Linked DNA regions of Homo sapiens: all the other regions are linked to region 1. The links are contacts of gene promoters, found by promoter capture Hi-C in blood cells and fetal thymus (Javierre and others, 2016). All regions are on one chromosome and are shown on one strand. The core of a region is centred on a gene start or on the middle of the fragment in contact, and the rest is flanking DNA. Distances in the headings are between cores, read along the strand shown.

Region 1 (3,346 bases), core at 227-2,726:
TGGAAATTTTCTCCAGTAGAATGTTGACCTGAGCCTGGGCGTGGTGGCTCATACCTGTAATACTAGCACTTTGGGAGGCTGAGGCAGGCAGATCATTTGAGATCAAGAGTTCGAGACCAGCCTGACCAACGTGGTAAAACCCCGTCTCTCCTAAAAATAATAATAAAAAAAAAATAGCTGGGCATGGTGGCACATACCTGTAATCTCAGCTACTTAGGAGGCTAAGGCAGGAGGACTGCTTGAACTCCAAGGCAGAGGTTACAATAAGCCGAGATCGCACCATTGCACTCCAGCCTGGACAGCAGAGTGAGACTCTGTTTCAAAAACAAAAAGAAAAAAAGAAAATTGACCCAAAGCTATGCATATATTGAGTACTCACTCGTTACATGTCTAATTATAAAGACCACCTAAGATTCTCCTGTACTTTTCCCTCTGCTTAGTATTTACCACAATTATAACCAAAGTTATTCATATAATTATATATTCAACAGATCTCTCCCTGGACTGTAAATTCCATAAGGACAGGGAGAGAGGACAGGAACCAAACTGTCTTGATTACTGCTTTATTCCAATGCCCAGCACTGTACCTAGTACTCAACAAATATCTGCAAAAGAATCTCTTTGTTAAATACGTTTCCAAACATTTACATAGTGCTTAGTATCTGCCAGTCTCTGTTCTTAGCACCTTAAACATATGAACACATTTAGTCTTCGTAACAACTCCATGAGGTATATACTATCGATGTCCCCACTTCACTGATGAGGAAACTAAGGCAGGGAGATTAGGTTCTTAAGCGATTCTGTTTTATCAAATATAGACACACATTCGTTCCAAAACATTAACTAGTCTCTGTCTACGACAGGAGCTATGGGAGGTGCTGGGGACACAAAATAAAATCGTGGTTAATGCTTTTTGAGTACCTGCTATATATCAGGCTTGGTGTTAGGCACTTTACAGAACTTTATGAACTTTACAGAACTTACAATAACCTTGCAAGTTAGGTATTCTTAATCACATTTGATTATTTGTAGCCGGTGTTACTAACTTATTGGTTGCTTGATTGATTGATTGAGACAGGGTCTCGCTCTGTCGCCCAGGATGGAGTGCAGTAGCAGGATCACGGCTCACCTCAGCCTCAAACTCCTGGGGTCAAGTGATCCTCCGGCTTCAACGTCCCAAGTAGCTGGGACTACACACACACGCCACTATGCCCAGATAATTTTTAATTTTTTTGGTGGGGAGGACAGGGAGTGGAGTGTTTTCCTATGTTGCCCAAGATGGTCTCGAACTTCTGGCCTCAAGTGATCCTCTCGCCCGGGTCGGCGTTACTATTCTAGTCCAACCTCCTACTTACCCGGTAAACCCACAAGGCTCCGCCCCTTTGCCGAAGCTGGCCCCGCCTATGCCCTCTTCCACGCCTGCGCGCTCCGTGCGCCAGTTCCCCCCACCCCGCCCCGCCCCAACCCCGACCCGGCAGACGACGCGCCGTGCGCCTGCGCACGGCTTGCCCATGTGTGCTGCAGCCGTCAGCCGGCCCAGCTGAGCAGCAGCAACGGACCTTGTTAACGGCGCGGCAGCCTCCACCGCCTGCTGTTGCCCTCCTCTCTCGGTGGTCTGTCCGCCCAGCGCACGTCACCATGGGCAAGAGCCGGACGAAGCGCTTCAAGCGACCTCAGTTCTCCCCTACGGGCGACTGTCAGGCCGAGGCGGCTGCGGCGGCGAATGGGACCGGAGGCGAGGAGGACGACGGGCCGGCGGCGGAGCTGCTGGAAAAGGTGAGGCGAGGGCTCCGTCGGGCCGGGAGGCGAGACGAGGTTGCCCCGCGCGCGTGCGCATTGCGCGCCTTCTGACCCTTTTCGCTCTCATCCGCAGCTCCAGCACCCGAGCGCCGAGGTCCGCGAGTGCGCCTGCGCAGGGCTGGCCCGGCTGGTGCAGCAGCGGCCGGCACTCCCGGGCCTGGCGCGACGAGACGCCGTGCGCCGCCTCGGGCCGCTGCTGCTAGACCCCAGCCTGGCCGTCAGGGAGACTGCAGCCGGCGCGCTGAGGTGAGCCAGGAAGGGTGCGGGGCGGTGCCCACCGCTGGCCTCCCCCGCGTCTGGGCTGCGGGCGGTCGCAGCGGTCACCCAGCGCCTTCTGTGTGCCATCAGGCACTGGCCCGGTCTCCCGTTTGCAGAGATTTGAAGCCAGTCTCCAGGCTCCGGAGAAGCCCAGTATCCCCGCATCTCATCTGTCCACCTGGCTGCTTCACCTGCAGCGTCCACCTGCTCAGGCGTCCTGCCCTCACGCCTTGCGCACGTTTTACACTCTCCAAAAGCCCTCCTTAGGGTCCCTTGCTTGGATGAACTCTTCAGTTCATGTGTCAGGAATCGTTCTAGATGCAGGGGACTTTGAGCAGCCAAGACTTTTGAGCGAGATCTGTTGACAGCCAAGATCCCTGTCTTGGCACAAGTCATGTTGATGGGGAGACAGACAGGAAGCTAGTAAAAAGGTAAAACATAATATTAAATAGTGAGAATTGCTGTGGGAAAACGAGATGATGATGAGTTGGGGGTGGGAAGTTTGAATTGGGTGCTCTTGGGCCGGGCGCGGTGGCACACACCTGTAATCCCATTGCTTTGGGAGGCCAAGGAAGGAGGATCACTGGAGGCCAGGAGTCCAAGGCCAACCTGGGCAACATAGCAAGACCCCGTCTGTAGAAAAATTATAAACAATTAGTCGGGCATGGTGGTGGGTGCCTGTAATCCCAGCTACTCAGGAGGCTGAGGTAGGAGAATCGCTTGAGCCCAGGAGTTCGAGGCTGCAGTGAGCTATGATCACACCACTGCACTCCAGCCTGGGTGATAGAACAAGACCCTGTCTCAAAAAAAAAAAAAGGTGCTCTTTAGATGACTTGTGAAAGGAGATGTGCAGGGTGAGAGAGCCAGGAGGCATGGGAAAATAGGGGGAAGAATATTCCCCACAAAGGGAGCAGCAACAGCAAAGAAGCGAAGCAGCAGGCAGCTTGACGTGGTTAAACAGCAGAGAGGGTAGGTAGGTGGCTGAGAAGAGCAGGGGTGGGTAATTACAGGAAGTGAGGCTGGAGAGAGGGATGAGCTGTACGATGGTGTAGGGCTGAGGACTTAACTCTAAGCAGGGAAGTGACATGCTGCAACACATTTTGTGAAGACCACTCTGCTGGTTGTGCAGAGAATGGACTGCAGAGGGGGCAAGAGTAGAGGTTAGTATTTGTAGTTCTTACAGCTCTGTCTCTGTTTGTTATTTATATTTCATTCACTGATATAGCAAATATGTATAAAGTGCCAACTGTGTGCCAGACACTGAGCTAAGCTGTGGGCATGGGGTAAT
Region 2 (3,346 bases), core at 554-3,053, 620 kb after region 1:
GTTCCAACCCGGCACTTCTGACCATGCAGATGAAGTTGGCACTTGTGTCCACACATTGGAAAAGAAGAATGATATGGTCTTCTGTGAGTTAATTAATAATGGAGGAGTGAGAAACTGATTTTCAAAGACAACACCCTCAGCCAATGGAACATTTTATTTTGCTGAAGTGGGGTTTGTAAGCTTGGGGCTAGAATGGCAGGGTTTGAGAACAGAGGGGTGATTCTAGAAACAATAAGGCGGAAGGGAAGGAGAGAGAGGAGGCACAGCACGGGGTCTCAGGAGGAGGCTTAGGCAGGGGAGCTGGATTGTGTTTTCAGGTGTCTGATCTTCCTGCCCAATGTACTGATGAGCTTGGAATTGGGTTAGGACCTGAGGTGGGGAAGTGACAGAATGCTGGGTCTGGTCTTGAGGTAGGAATGGGGCAACCTCAGAGGCTGCCCAAGAGATGCAGGCACGTCAGGTTCCCAGGCTGGAGGCTGCTCTGTGGAGAGCTGCCTGCTCCAATGTGTCCTTCTTTCAAGCATTGTCCCTCTGTCAGTAAGTCACCCATGGATAGGGCGCAGTGGCTTACGCCTGTAATCCTAGCCTGGGAGGCTAAGGCAGGCAGATCACCTGAGGTCAAGGGTTTGAGACCAACCTGGCTAACATGCTGAAACCTTGTCTCTACTAAAAATACAAAAATTAGCTGGGCATGATGGCATATGCCTGTAGTCCCAGCTACCTGGGAGGCTGAGACAGGACAATCGCTTGAGCCCAGGGGGCGGAGGTTGCAGTGAGCTGAGATGGCGCCACTGCACTCCAGCCTAGGCAACAGAGTGAGACTCCACCTCGGAAAAAAAAAAAAAGTCACTCTGAAAACAGACTTGGCCAAGCACTGGGCCAGAGGCTGAGGTCCAGCAACAAGGAAGGGACAAGGAAGGGATACCTTGAACCCTCAGAGACTGGTGATACACAGGACGGACACATGGAACTTGGGCCAACAGTGTTGGACCGTCTCGGCTGATGGCCAACAGGAGAACAGGCAGGCTGATCTTTGCAGCTGAGAGGACTGGGAGAGCCCACAGGGACTGTGGGGTCTGGAGAGCTTCCTTGCAGGAGGTGGGCATGGAAGGTCCAGATAAAAGCAGGTAGAGAAGGACGTGGACTTGACTCATAGTCCCACCATTCCATAGCTGGGTCATCTTAGGAAATTCATGATCCTCTTGAAACCTCCGTTTCTTCCTGTCAAAGATGGGGATGAGGAATGGAACCTATTCCATAGAGGTGTTGTGAGAGTACACGGCGTGGCATATGGCAAGTGTTCAATAACATATTCACACTGTGGTGTGCTCACTGTTTACCAGGCACCGAGTCCTAGTGTATGCATCCCTCATGACAAGATCTAAGTGGACTGTCATCCTCACTTAACTGTGAGGGAGACTGAGGTCAAGAGAAATGAAATGACTGGCCAAGAGCATACAGCCGCTAAGGAGCAGGGCTGGAATTCAAATCCAAGTTCGCTGGGGCCAGAGTCCTTGCAGTTGCCACCTGTTGCCTCTGCCTGGGGCACAGAGTGAGCAGAAGCTCACAGGTGGGAGTACTGAGAGCTGCGGGAAGTTGGTGAAGCTAGGGGTGCAGAGATGTGGGGAGGGAAAGCCATTCCTGTCTTCATCCATTTGGGCCAGCTTGTGGAAGTGTTTGGACTTTGGTGAGTGGGCGGGCTGCTTGGAGCAGAGGACCACCAGCGTGGAGACTGCAGCCCACTATGAGGCCGGGTTACCACCACTGTCAGCAGCAGCAGCCGCCGTCGGTCCTGGGCTGAGCTCCTACTATCCAGGCCTGCTGATGGGGGCAGTCCTCGCTCCTGGGGGAAGTGCTCAGGCACAGGCAGCTTCCCGGCCTGGAAGAATTTTGAATGACACAATCCAAGGATTTCTCTCCTCTGAGGCCCGGGGGATTCTGGAAGCATTTTCCCTCCGCCTCTTCTGAGCACTTCCTGCACGGTGCCCATGTCAGAGCACTCAAGGACAGAAATGTCTCCAGGGCATCCCAATTGCCTGTCTCGGCAGAGGGCCCTGCACACAGGGAGTTTTTAATCAATATCCCTTAACTCATTGGAAAGTTTTAAAAAATTATTATTAAACAAGTAAATTATGCTTATTAGGAAATACAGGTTAACACAGAAGAATTTTAAAAGTCCAGTTAAAATCCGATCCTAACTTGTCTTTTAGATGTTTCAATGCATATATTCACACATATCTATTACAGAATTTTTGTATAAAGTATGAGGTAGTAGTCCAAATTCATTTCTTTTGCACGTGGATATCTAGTTTTCCCAGCACCATGTGTTAAAGAGATCATTTTTCCCCTTTGAATTATCTTGGCATCCTTGTTAAAAAACAACCTACTCTTTAAATTTAGCCTTATATTCTTTCTACACAAAGCATTTGGCAGCCCAACTGTTTTTCATTGAGATATAATTCACATACCATAAAACTCACCCTTTTAAGGTGTGTAATTCACTGGTTTTTAGTCCATTCACAAGGTTGTGTAACCATCACCATGATCTAATTCCGGAATATTTTCATCATGCAAAAACAAAACAAAACAAAACAAAACAAAAACCAAACCTCATGCCCACTAGCAGTCACTCCTCATTCCTCCCTCCTCTCAGTTCCTGGCAACCAACAAATCTACTTTCTGTCTTCATGGGTTTGCCTATTCCGGACATTGCATGTAAACGGACTTACACAATAGATGTCATTTTGTGACTGGCTTCTTTCACTTAGCATAATGTTTTCAAGGTTCATTTATGTTGTAGCATTTATCAGTACTTTGTTTTTTTCACAGCTGAATAATATTCCATTGCACAGATAGATCACATTTTCTTTATCCATTCATCAGCTGAGGGACATTTAGTTTGCTTCCACTTTTTCCTCTTATGAATAATGTTGCTATGAACATTTGTGTACAAGCATTTGTGTGCATATATGCTTCAATTCTGTTGAGTATACCTAGGAGTAGAATTGCTGGATCATATGGTAACACCATGTTTAACTTTATGAAGAACCCACAAACTATTTTCCACAGTGGCTTCACCACTTTACGCTCTAACCACCAATGTATGAGGCTTCCAGTTTCTCCACATTATTTCCAGCACTTGTTTTCTGTCCTTTGGACTAAGGGCACCTTTGTGAGTGTAAAGTGGTATCTTATGGTGGCTTTGATTCACATTTCCCTAACAATTAATGATGTTGAGCGTCTTTTCATGTGCTTGTTGGCTACTTACATACGTTCTCTGAACATTTTCAAATCCTTTGCTCATTTAAAAAGTTGTTTGTTATTGAGTTTCAGGAGTCCTTTATAT
Region 3 (3,346 bases), core at 1-2,500, 600 kb after region 1:
GCCCAAGAGAGGCCTGCTGGGGATGTGTTGGGAGCCAACCTACCCCTACCAGCAGGTGGAACTGGTTTTGCCACTCCAAAACAGAGTTCCAGCTATGGGGACAGCCACTAGAGAGCAGAGCTAAGGGCATTCTAGGCCAAGGGGTCACAGTCCACCCTGAACTGTGCCTCCCAGCCTGAAGCCAGAAAGCTCAGGGAGGCTAGCGGCCCTGCCCAGGCCTCAGCACTGACCCTGCACCCCTAGGCCCAGCTGGATGACCCCTAAGAGCTTCCTGGAATTTGGATGCAGGGTTATTCTGTGTGTGCTGCCTCTCAGAGCATGTCACTTTGACGTGGACATCTCGGGTCTGGTTCTGGTGCTGTCCCTGTCTCGCCACGTGACCCTGGATAAGTCATCTCTCCAGGCCTTGATTTCCCCATCTGTAAACAGAGGTGAGTGAAATGATCTTTAAAGGCGTGTCAGTCCATTTTGCATTGCTATAAAGGAATACCTGAGGTTGGGTAGCTTATAAAGAAAAGAGGGTTATTTGGCTCACAGTTGTGCAGGTTGTACAGAAGCATGGCACCAGCATTGCTTCTTGTGAAGCTTCAGGAAGCTTCCACTTATGGTGGAAGGGGAAGGGGGAGTTCGTGACTTACATGGCAAGAGAGGGAGCAAGAGCCATGTCAGGCTCTTCTAAACAACCAGCTCTCATGTAAACTAACAGAGTGAGAACTCATTCATTACCACGGGGAGGGCACCAAGCCATCCATGAGGGACCTGCCCCCATGAGCCAAACATCTCCCACCAGGCCACACCTTCAACACTGGGAGTCACATTCAGCATGAGATTTGGAGGTGACCACCATGCATCCAAACCATATCAAGGACCCATTTCGGTGAGGGGACCAGGAACATATCCCTTCCCCTCTCCTCCACATCCTTTAATGTGGAGTTCAGCAAGGAAAGTAGGGCTTGGGTCAAATTAAAGCCTGGTCTTAATTTCCTGGTCCAGTTATTAGCTGTGTAACCCTGGGCAAGTCACTTAACCCCCTCAGGTTACAATGTTACAAATGATCACATTTTCCTCAACTGAAAAATGGGATAGGAACATGTCCCAAGCAGAGCTGGAGTGACGGTGCTATCAATGGCCCGGCAGTGCCTGGTCACACAGTAGGCCTGGGGAGCCCTGACTTTTACCGCACAGGGAGCTGCTTGCAGAGCTTGTTTTCAATTGTGGGCTTGGCAGGGAACTGCCGGCATCCCAGGGGACAGGGTCTCATGAGGATGCCTAATCCCAGCTCAAAGTGGAGACCCCAGGACTCCATCACAGCCAGTGGGGGGGAGTGGCTGCTGCAGCAGGGAGGGCTTCATTGGAATGAACCCCTTTAAGCTCCAGTCCAAATGCCCAGAGTGGTTTTGCAGGTATGGTTGTGAGGCTGGCATGGTAGTCCCATCTGCAGTCCCCTGGGATGAGGCACCTGTATGGTAGAGGGCCCGGGTGGAGAGAAGAGAAGGATGGGGATGAACCCAGGACCACAGATGGCCCAGTTCCATGGATGATTTTCATTGAGGTGCCTTCAAGTCAGTTCAACACTGGGCTTCTCAACCTTTGAGGTATGCAGGTAAGAGTCACCTGCGGCAGTGGGGGATGCTCTTGTTAAAGTGCAGACTCCGATTAAGCAGGTCTAGGGTGGGGCCTGAAATTCTGTGTTCCTAACAAGGCTCCATCCTGGGTATGGAGGTCAGGTACCCCCTCACCTCTCCTGTGGACCCAGCTTTTGAGGGGTCAGGAGAAGAATGTTCAGTCCCAGCTGCCACCACTCTAAAGTCCCCTAGAAACAAGGACTAATACAGGTGGCGTGGGAGAGGGCCCAGGCAAACAGGGAGGTGGGGTACCCCGGTGGGGCTGCAGTGGGCCCTGCGGAAAGCTTGCTGGAGGTGGGGGCCTAAGGAATTCAAGGACTTGTTCCAGGAACCCAAGGAACGAGTGGGCTCTAACTGCTGCAGCATATGGGAGATGCCAGGAGGAGCTGGCTGTGGCAGGCCATCCCAGTCCATCAGACAACTTGTAGTGGATGAAGATGCAGTGTCCATGGCCAGAAGAAACTCCCGTGGATGCTCAGGCCAAGGCTGCCAGAAGCACGAGGAGGGGCAGCATTGAGTGTCATCGGGAAAAGGCAAAGTGATGGTCCTGAAGCTGCCCCATGTGGCCAGTCCCTTTTTGGGAAGCCTGAATAAATCCATTTCCTGTGCACTGTGTGGGAAGCCAACCCCTCTTCAGAGGTACTTATGGGGAACCCCCCATGTGATTCTATAGGCTCCTTTACTCCCATATAAGTATTTTCTCTCTGTGTGCACCCCCCGCCCCACCCCCCCAACACCCCACACATATCATCTATCTGTGATTTTGAGATGACTTTTTTTTTTCACATTTCAGCACCTCTGAACTCAACAGGATCCTACACTTCTTATAGGCCTGGCTTGATGCTGACATCCTTCAGCCCCAGGGAAGACCTAAAGATCTCCAGGTCTTGAGGCACCTGGAACACCTCCACCTGAGACCACTTTAACATGATTTCTCTGCTTGAGGGATTTTGGACCATGCTGTGTGTATTCAGCCCTAAAACATGGGCGAGTGCCCGCTTGCAGTTCAAATTCTCAGAGGAAGTTCCCTGTACTCCACCCAGTGCCAAGTTTAGTTTGTGCAAATTTCCTTAATGTCCCCTCCTGTACAACAGGCTTATTTGGTGTTAACCCTCATATCGGGGGTCTAACTCTTTGCTTTTCCAGCTTTTGTGCTGGAATATCCCATTAAACTGTCCATGTTGGGTATTTTTTCTTTGTTAGTAAACATTTGTTGCATATTGTTGATAGCATTTTAGATTTGAAGAAATAACTGACAAAATCAATATCATCTGTTTCATCATTACAAATAGACTCATAGCTCTTTAATTTTTCCATTTAACACTTTAATTTTCCATAGGCCTAGATTTTCAAGAAGTCCAATATCTCTCACTTGAAGTGTCTTTTCCCTGGAGTAGATTGGGAGATTTGAGGGATATCTGTCCAAAGATGAGACAGTCTGTTTCTAGTTTCCCATCCAGCCTGATGGGGCGTCTACAGTTTTTACCACAAGGTGTCGCTGTTGAACAGATTCTGGTGCAGTCTAGTGCATAGCTGTCCACTTCTAGAGTGATCACTTGCTGGGCCAAGTTCCTCTCCTTAAGTGGTGTCTCACATTAAGGTTCCCAAATTACAGACTCATTAATTCACCCTAATAAGCTCATCCAGGCAGTTTAGGTCTTCAGGGGCTTCCAGCCTCCAACACACATTGGGCCAAAACCAGCCTGTACCACCAGCTCCAA
Region 4 (3,346 bases), core at 603-3,102, 590 kb after region 1:
CAGCACTTTGGGGGGCCGAGGTGGGTGGATCACTTGAGGTCAGGATTCGAGACCAGCTTGGGCAACGTGGTGAAATCCTGTCTCTACTAGAATACAACAAATCACTAGGCGTGGTTGCACATCCCTGTAATCCCAGCTACTAAGGAGGCTGAGGCAGGAGAATCGCTTGAACCAGGAGGTGGAGTTTGCAGTGAGCAGAGATCACACCACTGCACTCCAACCTGGGAGACAGGGCAAGACTCTGTTAAAAAAAAAACAAAAAACAAAAAACCAGCCTGGTGCAGTGGCTCACACCTATAATCCCAGCACTTTGAAAGGCCGAGACGGGTGGATCACCTGAGGTCAGGAGTTCAAGACGAGCTTGGCCAACATGGTGAAACCCCGTCTCTACTAAAAATACAAAAAATTAGCTGGGCATGGTGGCAGGTGCCTGTAATCCCAGCTACTCGGGGGGCTGAGGCAGAAGAGTCTCTTGAACCTGGGAGGCGGAGGTTGCAGTGAGCTGAGATCACGCCATTGCATTCCAGCCTGGGCAACAAGAGCAAAACTCCGTCTCAAAACAAAACAAAAAACAAAAACAAAAACGCCAATCTGACCATGGCACTTCCTACTGCAAACCCATCTCATTGCCCTCAGGACAAGGGCTCAGCTCCCAGCCCAGCAGACCAGGCCCTCAGGAGCCACTAGCTCCCTGTCTCCTGTCTCCTCCATGACTTTCTGCCTTTCCCCTCTGACCCACTGCCCTGTGCTCCCTGACAACCCTTAAACAATGGAGGACTTTCCTTTCTCTTCCAGCCCAGAATATGCTGCTCCTTCTCCCTGCAGTGCTTGTCCTCACCTCTCACCTAGCTGCTCCTGGCCTGAGCCTGGGTTCCCCAAGGCCTGGCCTAAGACAGAGACTTGGGGGTAGGTTTTTGGTAGGGTGATGCTCAAGAGAGGAGTGATGGGGCAGGAGGACAAGAGGGCAGGTGACAAAGTGACATGAGGGTGCCTTGCTGAGGTCACCATTAGAGAAAGTGGCCCTCTAGGATGAGGACAGAGTGACCCTGGGGTGTCTGGCTGCAGGGCGAAAGGCTGGAGCATGTGTCCACTGGCCCCAGCCTGAGTCTTGGGGGTGTCTCTGGGGGTGTTGATGCCCCTTCACTTCCTGCAGGACTGGAGAAGGCCCCAGGGAATGGGCAGGAAGGCCAGGTACAGTTCTGCTGGGATGAGGTGAGTCTGTGCTTGCTAGACTGTCCTCAATAGCTGCAGCTGAAATGACAGGTGGCCGTGGGTCTCTAGTACAACTGCCCCCTTCCTTCTTCAAGACCCCGCTCCTCCAGGAAGCCCTCCCTGACCCCCAAGCCTTGGGTAGATGCCCCTCCTGGGCCTCCTGCAGAGGCCTCAGATCACAGCTGCCTGTCTGCTGTCCCCACTTAGCCATAAATTTCTATAAGGCATAAATGAGATGAGGTGATGGGCTTAAAATAAGGTAATGGAAACAAAGTTGGAGCCAAGGGGAGAGAACTATAAAGACGATCTGCATTTATAGAAGGCTGTAATAGGGTTTGAACAGTCCAGGGCTTGCCGACCCATGGAGCTGGGGTTGGGGTACAGCCACTTCCTTGCTCTGGGCCCTCTGAGGTGCGAGGTGCCATGGTGCCAGAATCCCACCAGGCAAAGCCACTCTCCAGCCTTCCAGGCAAAGCACTGCCCATTTCATCCTCACAGCAACCTTAGGAGGCAGCCTTTCTTTTTTTTTTTTTTTTTTTTTTTTGAGACGGAGTCTCGCTCTGTCGCCCAGGCCGGATTGCGGACTGCAGTGGGGCAATCTCGGCTCACTGCAAGCTCCGCTTCCCGGGTTCACGCCATTCTCCTGCCTCAGCCTCCCGAGTAGCTGGGACTACAGGCGCCCGCCACCGCGCCCGGCTAATTTTTTGTATTTTTAGTAGAGACGGGGTTTCACCTTGTTAGCCAGGATGGTCTCGATCTCCTGACCTCATGATCCACCCGCCTCGGCCTCCCAAAGTGCTGGGATTACAGGCGTGAGCCACCGCGCCCGGCCAGGAGGCAGCCTTTCTATCACGTCCATTTTATTCCAGAGGACGGTAAAGCTGGGAAGTTGTGTAAGTTGTCTAAGGCATTTGACCCAATTAGGTCCAAAGACTCTCTCACCTGCTCTCTCTCTTTCTCTCTCTCCACCCCTCTTCTCTGCACATCTCCTGATCACCCAAGAAGAAGGGGCTATGGTGGACATCATACCCACTCCTGTTCCATTGGCCAAAGGAAGTCATGTGGCCAAGCCCATGGTATCTGCTGCCATCCCATTGGTCAAAGCAAGTCACATGGCCCAGGCTCATCATATTAACTTCCATCCCATTGGCCAAAGCAAGTCACATGGCCAAGCTCATCCTATCTACTCCCATCCTATTGGCCAAACTAAGTCACGTGGCTAAGTTCATCATATCCACTCCCATCCCACTGGCCAAAGCAGGCCGCACCACCAAGCTCGTTGCATTCATTCCTCTCCCACTGGTGAAAGCAAGTTACATGGTTGAGCTCATGGCATTCACTCCCATCCCATTGGCCAAAGCAAGTCACATGGCCAAGCCCAAAAGCCATGGGGTAGGGGAGCACTCTTCATGCCAAGGGGAGAGAAGAAGATGAAAGTCCACTGAAAAACAGTGACCTCCATTATATATGCAAACTCAGGGTGAGGCCCTATCTTGGGCATTAGATGAGCTGAGTTGAAGGCTCAGCATGGCCAACAATTTGCTCTGCAGTCCTGAGGAAACCGTTTCCCCTCTGTGAGTCTCAGTTTGCCCGTGTCTGCAATGGGGTTAATTACATCATAAGACACCGGCTGTTGTGAGCAGCGAGATAATCCCCAAGGCTGCTGACAGTGAGAAGGAGGGCTGCCTAGGGTCCAAAGAGATGCAAGAGGCAGTGGCCAGTTTCCTGTCCACATCATCCCCCCAACACATACTGGTTCAGATTCAGTTCCATCTGAGCTGGGCTCCAGCTTGACCAGGTACCATGATGGCAGCTGCCGCCTCACTTCCAACACCATCTCCCGGACCACATGCCTGCTCACAAACCCTTTGGAATACTTCGGAGGCCCTCAGTGGCTTCACGTCTCATGGCCGAGGGTGGATTAGGCGGGGTGCCTAGATGCGGGGAGGACAGGCAGGCCTTCCCTTAAACAGTCAGCCAAGCATCACATGCCGCCTGTCAAAGGGGGGTTTCAGATGCGGGGATTATGAACACCAAGAGTACAATTTCCTGATAAAATAGAAGAGGCGATTAAGTTAATGAAGGCTCATTTTGCTGATTTGAAAACTATAATTAATAGACATTAATTGTATAT

Evidence for each region. The method cuts DNA at HindIII sites, captures the fragments that hold promoters and counts their contacts. A CHiCAGO score of 5 or more calls a contact.
Region 2: a contact is called between a fragment that was not itself captured here and the fragment with the promoter of HEATR3 in region 1, in 3 of 17 cell types (neutrophils, monocytes and naive CD8 T cells). The highest score is 6.1, in neutrophils.
Region 3: a contact is called between a fragment that was not itself captured here and the fragment with the promoter of HEATR3 in region 1, in 6 of 17 cell types (neutrophils, naive B cells, activated CD4 T cells and 3 more). The highest score is 10.9, in neutrophils.
Region 4: a contact is called between a fragment that was not itself captured here and the fragment with the promoter of HEATR3 in region 1, in 1 of 17 cell types (neutrophils). The highest score is 8.3, in neutrophils.

What each region holds. Positions count from the first base shown.
Region 1 is chr16:50,064,494-50,067,839 of GRCh38, forward strand. HEATR3 (HEAT repeat containing 3) reads left to right here and starts at 1,477. Exons shown (of 15, transcript NM_182922.4): 1 at 1,477-1,776; 2 at 1,874-2,046. The coding sequence starts at 1,639. It overlaps HEATR3-AS1 (HEATR3 antisense RNA 1), which reads right to left and starts at 1,831. Exons shown (of 3, transcript NR_186390.1): 1 at 1,560-1,831; 2 at 198-314. RefSeq lists an enhancer at 1,285-1,579 and silencers at 1,430-1,479, 1,810-1,859, 1,940-2,199. The HindIII fragment of the contact is 22,013 bases long and covers 1-3,346 here.
Region 2 is chr16:50,686,435-50,689,780 of GRCh38, forward strand. No RefSeq gene overlaps it. Among named protein-coding and RNA genes, the nearest start is that of NOD2, 5.5 kb to the right of the region's middle. The HindIII fragment of the contact is 3,251 bases long and covers 179-3,346 here.
Region 3 is chr16:50,668,730-50,672,075 of GRCh38, forward strand. LOC101927272 (a long non-coding RNA gene) reads left to right here and starts at 126. Exons shown (of 3, transcript NR_110908.1): 1 at 126-431; 2 at 1,954-2,264; 3 at 2,419-2,910. It overlaps SNX20 (sorting nexin 20), which reads right to left. Exons shown (of 4, transcript NM_182854.4): 4 at 2,900-3,346. The HindIII fragment of the contact is 1,314 bases long and covers 594-1,907 here.
Region 4 is chr16:50,649,685-50,653,030 of GRCh38, forward strand. No RefSeq gene overlaps it. Among named protein-coding and RNA genes, the nearest start is that of SNX20, 30 kb to the right of the region's middle. The HindIII fragment of the contact is 4,167 bases long and covers 1-3,346 here.